2 separate regions of the Homo sapiens genome follow, and region 2 is linked to region 1. The links are contacts of gene promoters, found by promoter capture Hi-C in blood cells and fetal thymus (Javierre and others, 2016). All regions are on one chromosome and are shown on one strand. The core of a region is centred on a gene start or on the middle of the fragment in contact, and the rest is flanking DNA. Distances in the headings are between cores, read along the strand shown. Region 1 holds the start of AKAP17A (A-kinase anchoring protein 17A). Region 2 has its middle 19 kb from the start of CRLF2.

Region 1 (5,013 bases), core at 693-3,192:
GTGATGGGCTTCAGGTACAAGCCGTAAGCAGGGCAGAGCTCCACGGCCTCAGACGTGTCGTGCACGATGGTAGCCGCTGCCATAGCCTCCGGGACCTTGGGCCTGAAACATAAGACGCAGACAGTCAGCACCAGCACCCCCCACCTCCCCCGCCAATGAGGAGGGGCCAAGCCAGCAGGCACTTTCTGGACCCGGAGAAGAGAAACAGCAGTGTCTCTCTGCCGTGTCAGAGACCGGTTTCCACTTTGTTAACAGCCATCTCAACGGAGTTCTTTACTTTTTGAAATCATTAAGAGTACACCAAAGGGGAAAGAGCCGAGCTGATAAAGAACAGGTTAGTGTCAAAGCCTCGGTCAGCACTGCCCGACACCCTACATCCAGCAGCCAGCAGCTCCCAAGGCCTGCAGAATAGGAAGCTGAGCACGACCAGGCCCCTCACACAGGTCAAGTAGGAACGGGGACGCTACAAACGCCTAGCTCCACGGGAAGGGGCAGAGAGACACTGGGGAAGGGAAGGGGCCAGGGAGAGCACAGCTGCAGGCATCTGGAAAGGTTTTGTGGAGGGGGCGGCGGCCCTGTACTTGCCCTGATAAAACAGGAAGTCTCGGGCTGCAACAACAATCCAGAACCATGAACCCTAGTAATCTCCACGAAGGCCAAACGTATCCCAGCTTTAACCCACTCAAAGCCAAAAAGTACAACGAACTTTCCACAAGTTAGGGGCCGGAGTCCCCCGTCTGCGCCTTCTTTCTCCGCCCACCTTCATTAACCCACCTCTTCCCTGCTGAGCTGACGGGCAGCCACTTCCTGACGGCCAAGTCCAAGTAGAGGAAGCTTCACTCGCAGAAACCCAACCATCTCAGGTGACCGCCTCCGGCCCGGCCGCCCACCCCATCAACCTGGAGGCTTCCTGCCAGGCCCAGGAGACGGCCTCCTCGCCCAAGCCCGAGGTGGGAGGTGCGAAAGAAGGGAGGGAGGGTGGAGAAGCGACCAGAAAAGGTCAGTGGGGCACCAGGGAGGGGCTCCAGTCTGGACAGAGACCAGTGAACCCTCCCCCAGAACCCAAGCGGCCCCAGCAACTTCACCACCGAGGAACCCTCCCCACTCTGGCCTCCAGCGCCCTCCGACCACCCCGGTACACCTGGCTGCCCAATCCCCAGTACGCGGCATTGCCCCTGGTATTCCCACCTACCGCAGCCCCCCAGCATGGCCTCAGGCTGCCGCTGGCACCCCTGGCAGGGCCCCACACATTCTCAGGCCCTTGGCCACTCGGTACCCTCAGCTCCTCAGTTCCCCGCTCCCCACCACCCTCCTGGATGAGCCCCAATACCCCAACCTACACAGCACCGCCCCAGCCTCCGAAAACCCCGGACAGCCCCTTGCTTCCCACTGTAGACCTAGGAGCGACCGCAGCGCCACGTCCCCTAGTCCCAGGCCTCCTAGTCTCCCGCCCATCCGATCCCCCGAGCTCCCAGCCCTCCGACACCGCTCCAGGCCTCAGCTCCTTCGGTGCAGTCCCAGGAACCGCTCCAGCCCCTACCCCTACTTCCAGGGACCCCCGGACCCCGACCGCAGACCTCCCCAGCCCCCGATTCCCCCGTACAGTTTCAGGCGCTCCCAGCCCCCCGGTGGCACCCCACGCCCCCCAACCCCAGCCCCGTCACCTCCGAGGCCCCTAGGCGCCGCCTCCCAAGCCCCGGCCCCCCGGGCCCGGCCCTAGGAGCGAAGCGTTCGCCGGCTGCAGCCAGGCCCGGGAGGCACGGGGGCGGCACTCACCTGCGCGGGGCTCCGCCTGCGTCCCAGGCCGCCGCCGCCGCTGGCCCAAGCTCCCGCCGTCCCTCGACGATCCCCGGACAGGCGCGGCCTCACCGCCGGGAGCCGCCACCGTCCCCCGGAGGCGCCTCCGACGCCGCCACCGCCGTCGCCGCCCGCCCTCTATGACGCATTTCCACTTCCGGCGCGCGGGCTCGCGGAAGAGGCCGCGCGGCAGCACCGGGTTTCTCCTTCTTGCCCTGGCTCCGCCCCCGGGAGGAGGGACTTCCGGGAGCCCGACCTTTTGCACTGCGCGTGCGCGAGTCCGCCCCGCCCCCATGGTGCCACCTGCCTGCGGGTAACCAGGGGAGGTACTTGGGCCAGGGTCTGTGGTCATAGCCCTTAAGCCAAACAGGAGGGGGGCCGGTGTGGGGTCTAAATTCCAATTGTAGAGTCAAATATATATAACAAAATTCTAAAATGTAATAGGATCCTATAACGGGATTCTATACTATACTTGCAAATTATGGGTAATATACTTGAATAATATAATTTATGTATAAATTAGATATCATATTCTATGACGTAATTATAGAATTACATATAAATTGCTAGTTAATTAACTATTAATTGAATGGTTAATAATTATTAATTGTATATTAATAATTATTAACGCATACCATTACATAATGTAATTATGAAATAATAAATGATAACTTACAATGGTATTATGAAATTAATAATAATTTATATTGCAATTATGAAATAAATGATCATTTCTAATTATAAGATAATTTATAATGTAATTATGAAATAAATATAATGTAATTTAAAAATAAATGATAATCTAATGTAATTATGAAGCAAATGCTATTGTATAATATAATCATAATTTATAATGTAATTTTGGAATAATAAATGATAATCTATAGTGTAATTATGAAATAAATGAAAATATATAATGTAATTCTGAAATGATCATTTATAATGTAATTATGAAATAATAAATGACAATTTATAATGTGATTACAAAATAATAAATGAGGCCAGGTGCGGTGGCTCACGTCTGTAATGCCAGCACTTTGGAGGGCCAAGGCGGGCAGATCACAAGGTCAGGAGTTCAAGACCAGCCTGGGGCCGGGCCCGGTGGCTCATGCCTGTAATCCCAGCACTTTGGGAGGCCGAGATGTGCGGATGATGAGGTCAGGAGATCGAGACCATCCTGGCTAACACGATGAAACCCCGTCTTTACTAAAATACAAAAAATAATCAGCCGGGCGTGGTGGTGGGCACCTGTAGTCCCAGCTACCAGCTACTCGGGAGGCTGTGGCAGGAGAATGGCGTGAACCTGGGAGGTGGGGCTTGCAGTGAGACCGTGCCACTGCACTCCAGCCTGGTTGACAGAGCGAGACTCCATGTCAAAACAAAACAAAAAAAAGACCAGCCTGGCCAGCATGGTGAAACCCCGTCTCTACTAAAAAGACAAAAAACTAGCCGGGTGTGGAGGTGGTTGCCTATAGTCCCAGCTACTCAGGAGGCTGAGGCAGGCCCGAGAATCACTTGAACCCAGGAGGCAGAGGTTGCAGTGAGCGAAGATGGCGCCACTGCACTCCATCCTGGGCAACAGAGCGAGACTCTGTCTCCAATAAATAAATAAATAAGTAATGATAATTTATAATGCATTATTCATTTTTTATTATAATTTATTGTTTATTAAGTATGCCATGCTCTATGTGAGAGGTACGTGCTTCTGACGTCCCAAATATGTCACAAGTCCCCAAACTGGATATCCAGGGTCAGATAATCAGAACAGAAATCTTGCATTGCTCAACATCAGCTATCAACAAAGGAGAAAGCCAACACACCAGGGGCCTGAGGAAGACGGAACATTCTGTGAACCCAGGCAGGCTTCAGAGGGGCCGGGCTGTGTAAGAGGGTTGCTATGCCTTCCATGTTTCTGTCCTTCCAAAACTCAAGTTCAAACTCAGTTCCCACTGCAAGAGTATTAGAGGTGGTGCTTTTAGGAGGTGGTTAGGTCATGAGTGGGATTTGTGCTCTTAGAAGACAGGCCCCAGAGAGCTCTCTCACCCCTTCCACCATGTGAGGACACAGCCAGAAGGAACCACCTGTGAACCAGCAAGCGGGTCCTCACTAGACACTGAACCTCCCACTCATTGATCTTGGACTCTCAGCCTCCAGAACCGTGAGACATAAAAGTCTGTGATTTAGGCCGGGTACAGTGGCTCATGCCTGTAATCCCAGCACTTTGGGAAGCCGAGGCGGGTGGATCACCTGAGGTCAGGAGTTTGAGACAATTGTGGCCAACATGGTGAAACCCTGTCTTTACTAAAAATACAAAAATTAGCTGGGCGTGGTGGTGCGCACCTGTAATCCCAGCTATTCAGGAGGCTGAGGCAGGAGAATTGCTTGAACCCGGGAGGTGGAGGTCGCAATGAGCCAAGATTGCGCCATTGCACTCCAGCCTGGATGACAAGAGGAAGACTCCATCTCAAAAGAAGGGGAGGGGAGGGGAAGGGAGGGGAATGGAGGGGAAGGGAGGGGAAGGGAGAGGAGGGGAGGGGAAGGGAGGGGAATGGAGGGGAAGGGAGGGGAATGGAGGGGAAGGGAGGGGAAGGGAGAGGAGGGGAGGGGAAGGGAGAGGAGGGGAGGGGAAGGGAAAGGAGGGGAGGGGAGGGGAAGGGAGGGGAGGGGAAGGGAGGGGAGGGGAGGAGGGGATGGGAGGAAAGAAGGGAAGGGAAGGGGAGGGGAAGGGGGGAGGAGAGGGGAGGGGAAGGGAGCGGAGGAAAGGGGAGGGGGGAGGGGAAGGGAGGGGAGGGGAGGAGGGGATAGGAGGAAAGAAGGGAAGGGAAGGGGAGGGGAAGGGGGGAGGAGAGGGGAGGGGAAGGGAGTGGAGGAAAGGGGAGGGGGAGGGGAAGGGAGGGGAGGGGAAGGGAAGGGAGGGGAGGGGAGGCGAAGGGGGAGGAGAGGGGAGGGGAAGGGAAGGGAGGGGAGGGGGAGGGGAAGGGAGAGGAGGGGAGGGGAAGGGAGAGGAGGGGAGGGGAAGGGAAAGGAGGGGAGGGGAGGGGAGGGGAAGGGAGGGGAAGGGAGAGGAGGGGAGGGGAAGGGAGAGGAGGGGAGGGGAAGGGAAAGGAGGGGAGGGGAGGAGAGGGGAAAGGAGGGGAGGGGAGGGGAAGGGAGGGGAGGGGAAGGGAGGGGAGGGGAGGAGGGGATGGGAGGAAAGAAGGGAAGGGAAGGGGAGGG
Region 2 (5,496 bases), core at 2,135-4,634, 360 kb after region 1:
TCCGCTAATGTCTTCAGGATTGGGAGGGCCTGGAAGAAAAAGATCTAACTACGTCAAAAGAGATTCTTTACAGATGCCAGTTTCCCCCCACAAAGGACAGCTCTGCGGGGCCATTTCCAAATATAGCAAAGGAACATGTTTGGGGGCAAAATATTTTGCCTTGCTTCTTTGTCACATAATGTGATACCACAGCCCGACCGTAAAGTAAGTCATGATATATAGCGATAAATAAAACCCACTGAATGAAAACTTATGATTTGTAAGGCGTGACTCCTGATTACACAGGAACTTGGGCAAGATAAAGAATCAGATCTTAGTCCTCGGTGTCAATGTACCACCTTCTTCTTTTCTGTTTTTTTTTTTTTTTTTTTCTTTTTGACAGTATCTCACTCTTTCGCCCAGGCTGGAGTGCAGTGGTGCGATCTCGGCTCAGTGCAACCTCCACCTCCCGGGTTCAAGAGATTCTCCTGTCTCAGCCTCCCGAGTAGGTGGGACTACAGGTGCGTGCCACCATTCCCAGCCTAATGTACCACATTTTCTTTTTTTCTTTCCTTTTTTTTTTTTTTTTGGCGCTCTGTCCCCCAGGCTGGACTGCGGTGGCGCGATCTGGGCTCACCGCAAGCTCCGCCTCCCGGGTTCACACCATTCTCCTGCCTCAGCCTCCCGAGTAGCTGGGACGACAGGCGTCCGCCACCACGCCGGGCTGATTTTTTGTATTTTTAGTAGAGACGGGGTTTCACCGTGTTAGCCAGGCTGGTCTCCTGTTACCCAGGATGGTCTCGATCTCCTGACCTGGTGATCCACCCATCTCGTCCTCCCAAAATGCTGGGATTACAGGTGTGAGCCACTGCACCCGGCCTCTAATGTACCGCATTTTCTTTATCCAATGGTGGTTGCATCTTTTCCTTCCTTCCTTCCTTCCTTCTTTCCTTCCTTCCTTCCCTCCCTCCCTCCCTTCCTTCTTTTTTTTTTCTGACGGAGTTTTGCTCTTTCACCGAGGATGGAGTGCAATGGTGCAATCCCGGCTCACTGCAACCTCTGCCTCCTGGGTTCAAGTGATTCTCCTGCCTCAGCCTCCTGAGTAGCTGGGAATACAGGCACCCACCACCACGCCCGGCTAATTTTTGTATTTTTAGCGGACACGGGGTTTCACTATGTTGGCCAGGCTGGTCTCGATCTCCTGGCCTCGTGATCAGCCCGCCTCGGCCTCCCAAAGTGCTGGGATTACACGCATGAGCCTTGGCGTCTAGCGTAGTTTATCAATAATGTTATACTATCCCTTCCCTTCTCATTCACCATGCCCCTTGCAAACCCCCTCCCGTGCTAACAATAGAGAACCACGTTTTGCTGTAATTTTCCATTACCTACCCAACTCCTATAAAGCCACAACTTCCCCATCTCCCTTCGCTGACCGTCTCTTCGGACTCAGCCTACTTGCACCCGAGTGAACAAACAGCTTTATTTTGCTCACACAAAGCACCTGGCCAGTGGTTGCCTCTTATCTTGGACATTTCACCTCGCTGGTGTTTAGATCACACGTTTGTAATGCAGGCACGGATCGGCCGGGCGCAGTGACTCACGCCTGTAATCCCAGGACTTTGGGAGGCCGAGGCGGGCGGATCACGAGGTCAGGAGTTTGAGACCAGCCTGGCCAACATGGTGAAACCCCGTCTCTACTAAAAATATAAAAAATTAGCTGGGTGTGTGGGTATGCACCTGTAATCCCAGCTACTCGGGAGGCTGAGGCAGGAGAGTTGCTTGAACCCGGGAGGTGGAGGTTGCAGTGAGCTGAGATCGCGCCCCTGCACTCCAGCCTGGGCGACAGAGCGAGAGTCCGTCCCGAAAAAAAGAAAATACAGTCACAGATTCAGGTCTCCCTGACAAGTCTGTAGTAGGGAGCGAATAAAGCCATACATCTCAAGATGCAAGCCCAGCGCTGAGCCACACGCAATGTTCTGAGCCCCTTGATCTCTGCAACCGTTGATTTTTATCACAAAGCAGAAGGAACTGCAAGAAACGGTTTGCAATTCAGATCAGAGAGACTTTCGCAGACCTGCCACACAGAAGGAGGCCTTCTCTTTCATTCTATCTCATTAGGAAATGTATTTATTCATTCTAATTCATACATAAAAATTTGAAGTCCTAAAATTTGAGACAGGTCTCATTTAACTTCGAAAGCTTCTTTTGCCAAGGCTGAGGATGTGTTTCCGTGACACAGCCTCATGAGGTCCTGATGACACGTGCCCATGCTTCGGGTACAGCTTGTTTTGGTTTTTTGGTTTTTTTTTTGTTTGTTTGTTTTGTTTTTTTTTGAGATGGAGTCTCACCCTGTTACCCAGGCTGGAACACAGTGACATGATCTCAGCTCACTGCAACCTCCACCTCCCGGGTTCAAGCAATTCTCCTGCCTCAGCCTCCCAAGGAGCTGAGACTACAGGCACCTGCCACAACACCCCAGCTAATTTTTGTATTTTTAGTAGAGACGGGATTTCGCCATGTTGGCCAGGCTGGTCTCCAACTCCTGACCTCAGGTGATCCGCCCGCCTCGGCCTCCCAAAGTGCTGGGATTACAGGTGAGAGGCACCCACGCCCGGCTGATTTTTTTTTTTTTTTTTTTGAGACGGAGTCTCACCGTGTTGCCCAGGCTGGAGTGCAGTGACACGATCTCAGCTCACTGCAACCTCCGCCTCCCGGGTTCAAGCGATTCTCCTGCCTCAGCCTCCCGAGTAGCTGGGACCACAGGCGCACATCACCATGCCCGGCTAATTTTTTGTATTTTCGTAGAGACGGGGATTCACCGTGTTAGCCAGGATGGTCTTGAACTCCTGACATCACGCAGTCCACCCGCCTTGGGCTCCCAAAGTGCTGGGATTACAGGCTGGAGCCACTGCACTTGGCCATTTTTTTTTTTTTTTTTTCCTGAGACAGAGTCTCACCCTGTTGCCCAGGCTAGAGTGCAGTGACATGATCTCGGCTCACTGCAACCTCTGCCTCCTGGGTTCAAGCGATTCTCCTGCCTCAGCCTCTTGAGTAGCTGGGATTACAGGCATGCACCACCACGCCTGGCTAATTTTTGTATTATTAGTAGAGATAGGGTCTCACTATGTTGGCCAGGCTGGTCTCGAACTCCTGACCTCAGGTGATCCACCCACCTCGGCCTCCCGAAGTGCTGGGATTACAGGCATGAGCCATCAGGCCCGGCCTTACAGCTTGGTTTTATACTTTTTTCTTTTTTGAGATGTTGTCTCTCTCTGTCGCCCAGGCTGGAGTGCAGTGGCGTGATCTCCGCTCACTGCAACCTCCGCCTCCAGGGTTCAAGCGATTCTCCTGCCTCAGCCTCCCGAGTAGCTGGGACTACAGGCGCCCGCCACCACTTTTGGCTAGTTTTTGTATTTTTAGTAGACACTAGGTTCACACTGTTGACCAGGCTGTTCTCAAACTCTTGACCTCAGGTGATCTGCCTGGCTCAACCTTCCAAAGCGCTGGGATGACAGGCGTGGGCCACTGCGCCCAGTTCATTGTATGCATTTTTTTTTTTTTTTTGAGACGGAGTCTCACTCTGTCACCCAGGCTGGAGTGCAGTGCCGCGGTCTCGGCTCACTGCGACCTCCGCCTTCTGGGTTCAGGCGATTCTCCTGCCTCAGCCTCCCGAGTAGCTGGGATTACAGGCACCTGCCACTACATTTGGCTAATTTTTTTTTTTTTTTTTGTATTTTTAGTAGAGACAGGGTTTCACCATGTTGGCCAGGCTGGTCTTGAACTCCTAACCTTAGGTGACCCACCCGCCTCGGCCTCCCAAAGTGCTGGGATGACAGGCGTGAGCCTCCGCGCCCGGCCTTTGTTTTATGCATTTTAAGGAGACATGAGATGTGAATTAATATATGTAAGAAGTACACTGGTTCTGTGCAGAAAGGCAGGGATGACTTAAAGCAAGCAGGGGGCTCCCAGGTCCGAGGTAGGTGAGAGACCGATGGCTGTATTCCTCTGAGTTTCTGATAAGCCTCTCGAAAGCAGGCAATCAGAATATGCATCTATCTCCATGACCACAGGGTTGACTTTTTATAGAAACGGAGGCAGATTTGCCCTGAGCACCTCCTAGCTTGAATTTTCTCTTTAGCTTAGTGATTTTGGCCAGGCTGGTCTCCAACTCCTGACCTCAGGTGATCCACCTGCCTCGGCCTCCCAAAGTCCTGGGATCACAGGCGTGAGCCGCCACGCCCGGCCCCTGCTCAGTTTTTCTTTAAACCTGAACTTCTCTACAAACAAAAAGACAAACAAACAAAAAACCATTGAATGAAAAAAGAAAGTCAGTCTGAGATGGCTACAGACTATGGCTGCAACTATAAGACATTCTAGAAAAGGCAAAACTGTCCGGGCACGGTGGCTCACGCCTGTCATCCCAACACTTTGGGAGGCCGAGGTGGGTGGATCACCTGAAGTCGGGAGTTCAAGACCAGCCTGGCCGACATGGGGAAACCTCGTCTCTACAGAAAACACAAAATCAGCCGGGCTTGGTGGCGGGCACCTGTCATCTCAGCTACTCGGGAGGCTGAGGCAGGAGAATCGCTTGAACCTGGGAGGCAAAGCTTGCAGTGAACCCAGATCACGCGACTGCACTCCAACGTGGGAGACAGAGTGAGACTCTGTGTCAAAAAAAAAAAAGAAAAGAAAAGAAAAGAAAAAGAAAGCAAACTTATGCAGACAGTAAGATGATCAGGGGTGGCCAGAGGTGTCAGGCAGGGAGGAATGAACAGGTAGAACTCAGGGGATTTTTAGAGCAGTGAAACTCCTCCATTTGATCGTATAATGGTCCATCCAACGTCACTATATGTTTGTCCAAACGCACAGAACTTACAACAGCAACAAAGAACTCTTTTTTTTTTGAGATGGAGGCTCGCTCTATCGCCCAGGCTGGAGTGCAGTGGCGCGATCTCAGCTCACTGCAAACTCCACCTCCCAGGTTCACGCCATTCTCCTGCCTCAGCCTCCCGAGTAGCTGAGACTACAGGCGCCCGCCACCACGCCCGGCTAATTATTTTTGTATTTTTAGTAGAGATGGGGTTTCACCATGTTAGCCAGGATGGTCTCAATCTCCTGACCTGGTGATATACCCGTCTCGGCCTCCCTAAGTGCTGGGATGACAGGCGTGAGCCACCGCGCCCGGCCAACAGCAACAAAGAACTCTAACATGGGCTGGGAGTGGTGGCTCACACCTGTCATCCCAGCACTGGGAGGCTGAGGCGGGCGGATCACCTGAGGTCAGGAGTTCGAGACCAGCCTGACCAACATGGTGAAACCCCGTCTCTAGTAAAAATACAAAAATTAGCCGGGCGTGGTGGAGGGTGCCTGTAGTCCCAGCTACTCGGGAGGCTGAGGCAGGAGAATGGCGTGAACCCAGGAGGCGGAGGTTGCAGTGAGCTGAGATCGCGCCACTGCACTCCAGCCTGGGCGACAGAGTGAGACTCTGTCTCAAAAAAAAGAACTCTAATGTGAACT

The links. Contacts are between HindIII fragments. The CHiCAGO score rates a contact against its expected background, and 5 or more counts as called.
Region 2: a fragment that was not itself captured here is called in contact with the fragment with the promoter of AKAP17A in region 1 in 1 of 17 cell types (neutrophils); the score reaches 6.4 in neutrophils.

Annotation. Positions count from the first base shown.
Region 1 is chrX:1,588,533-1,593,545 of GRCh38, reverse strand. It overlaps AKAP17A (A-kinase anchoring protein 17A), which reads right to left and starts at 1,942. Exons shown (of 5, transcript NM_005088.3): 1 at 1,777-1,942; 2 at 1-102. The coding sequence starts at 83. The HindIII fragment of the contact is 17,990 bases long and covers 837-5,013 here.
Region 2 is chrX:1,228,777-1,234,272 of GRCh38, reverse strand. No RefSeq gene overlaps it. Among named protein-coding and RNA genes, the nearest start is that of CRLF2, 19 kb to the right of the region's middle. The HindIII fragment of the contact is 2,408 bases long and covers 2,181-4,588 here.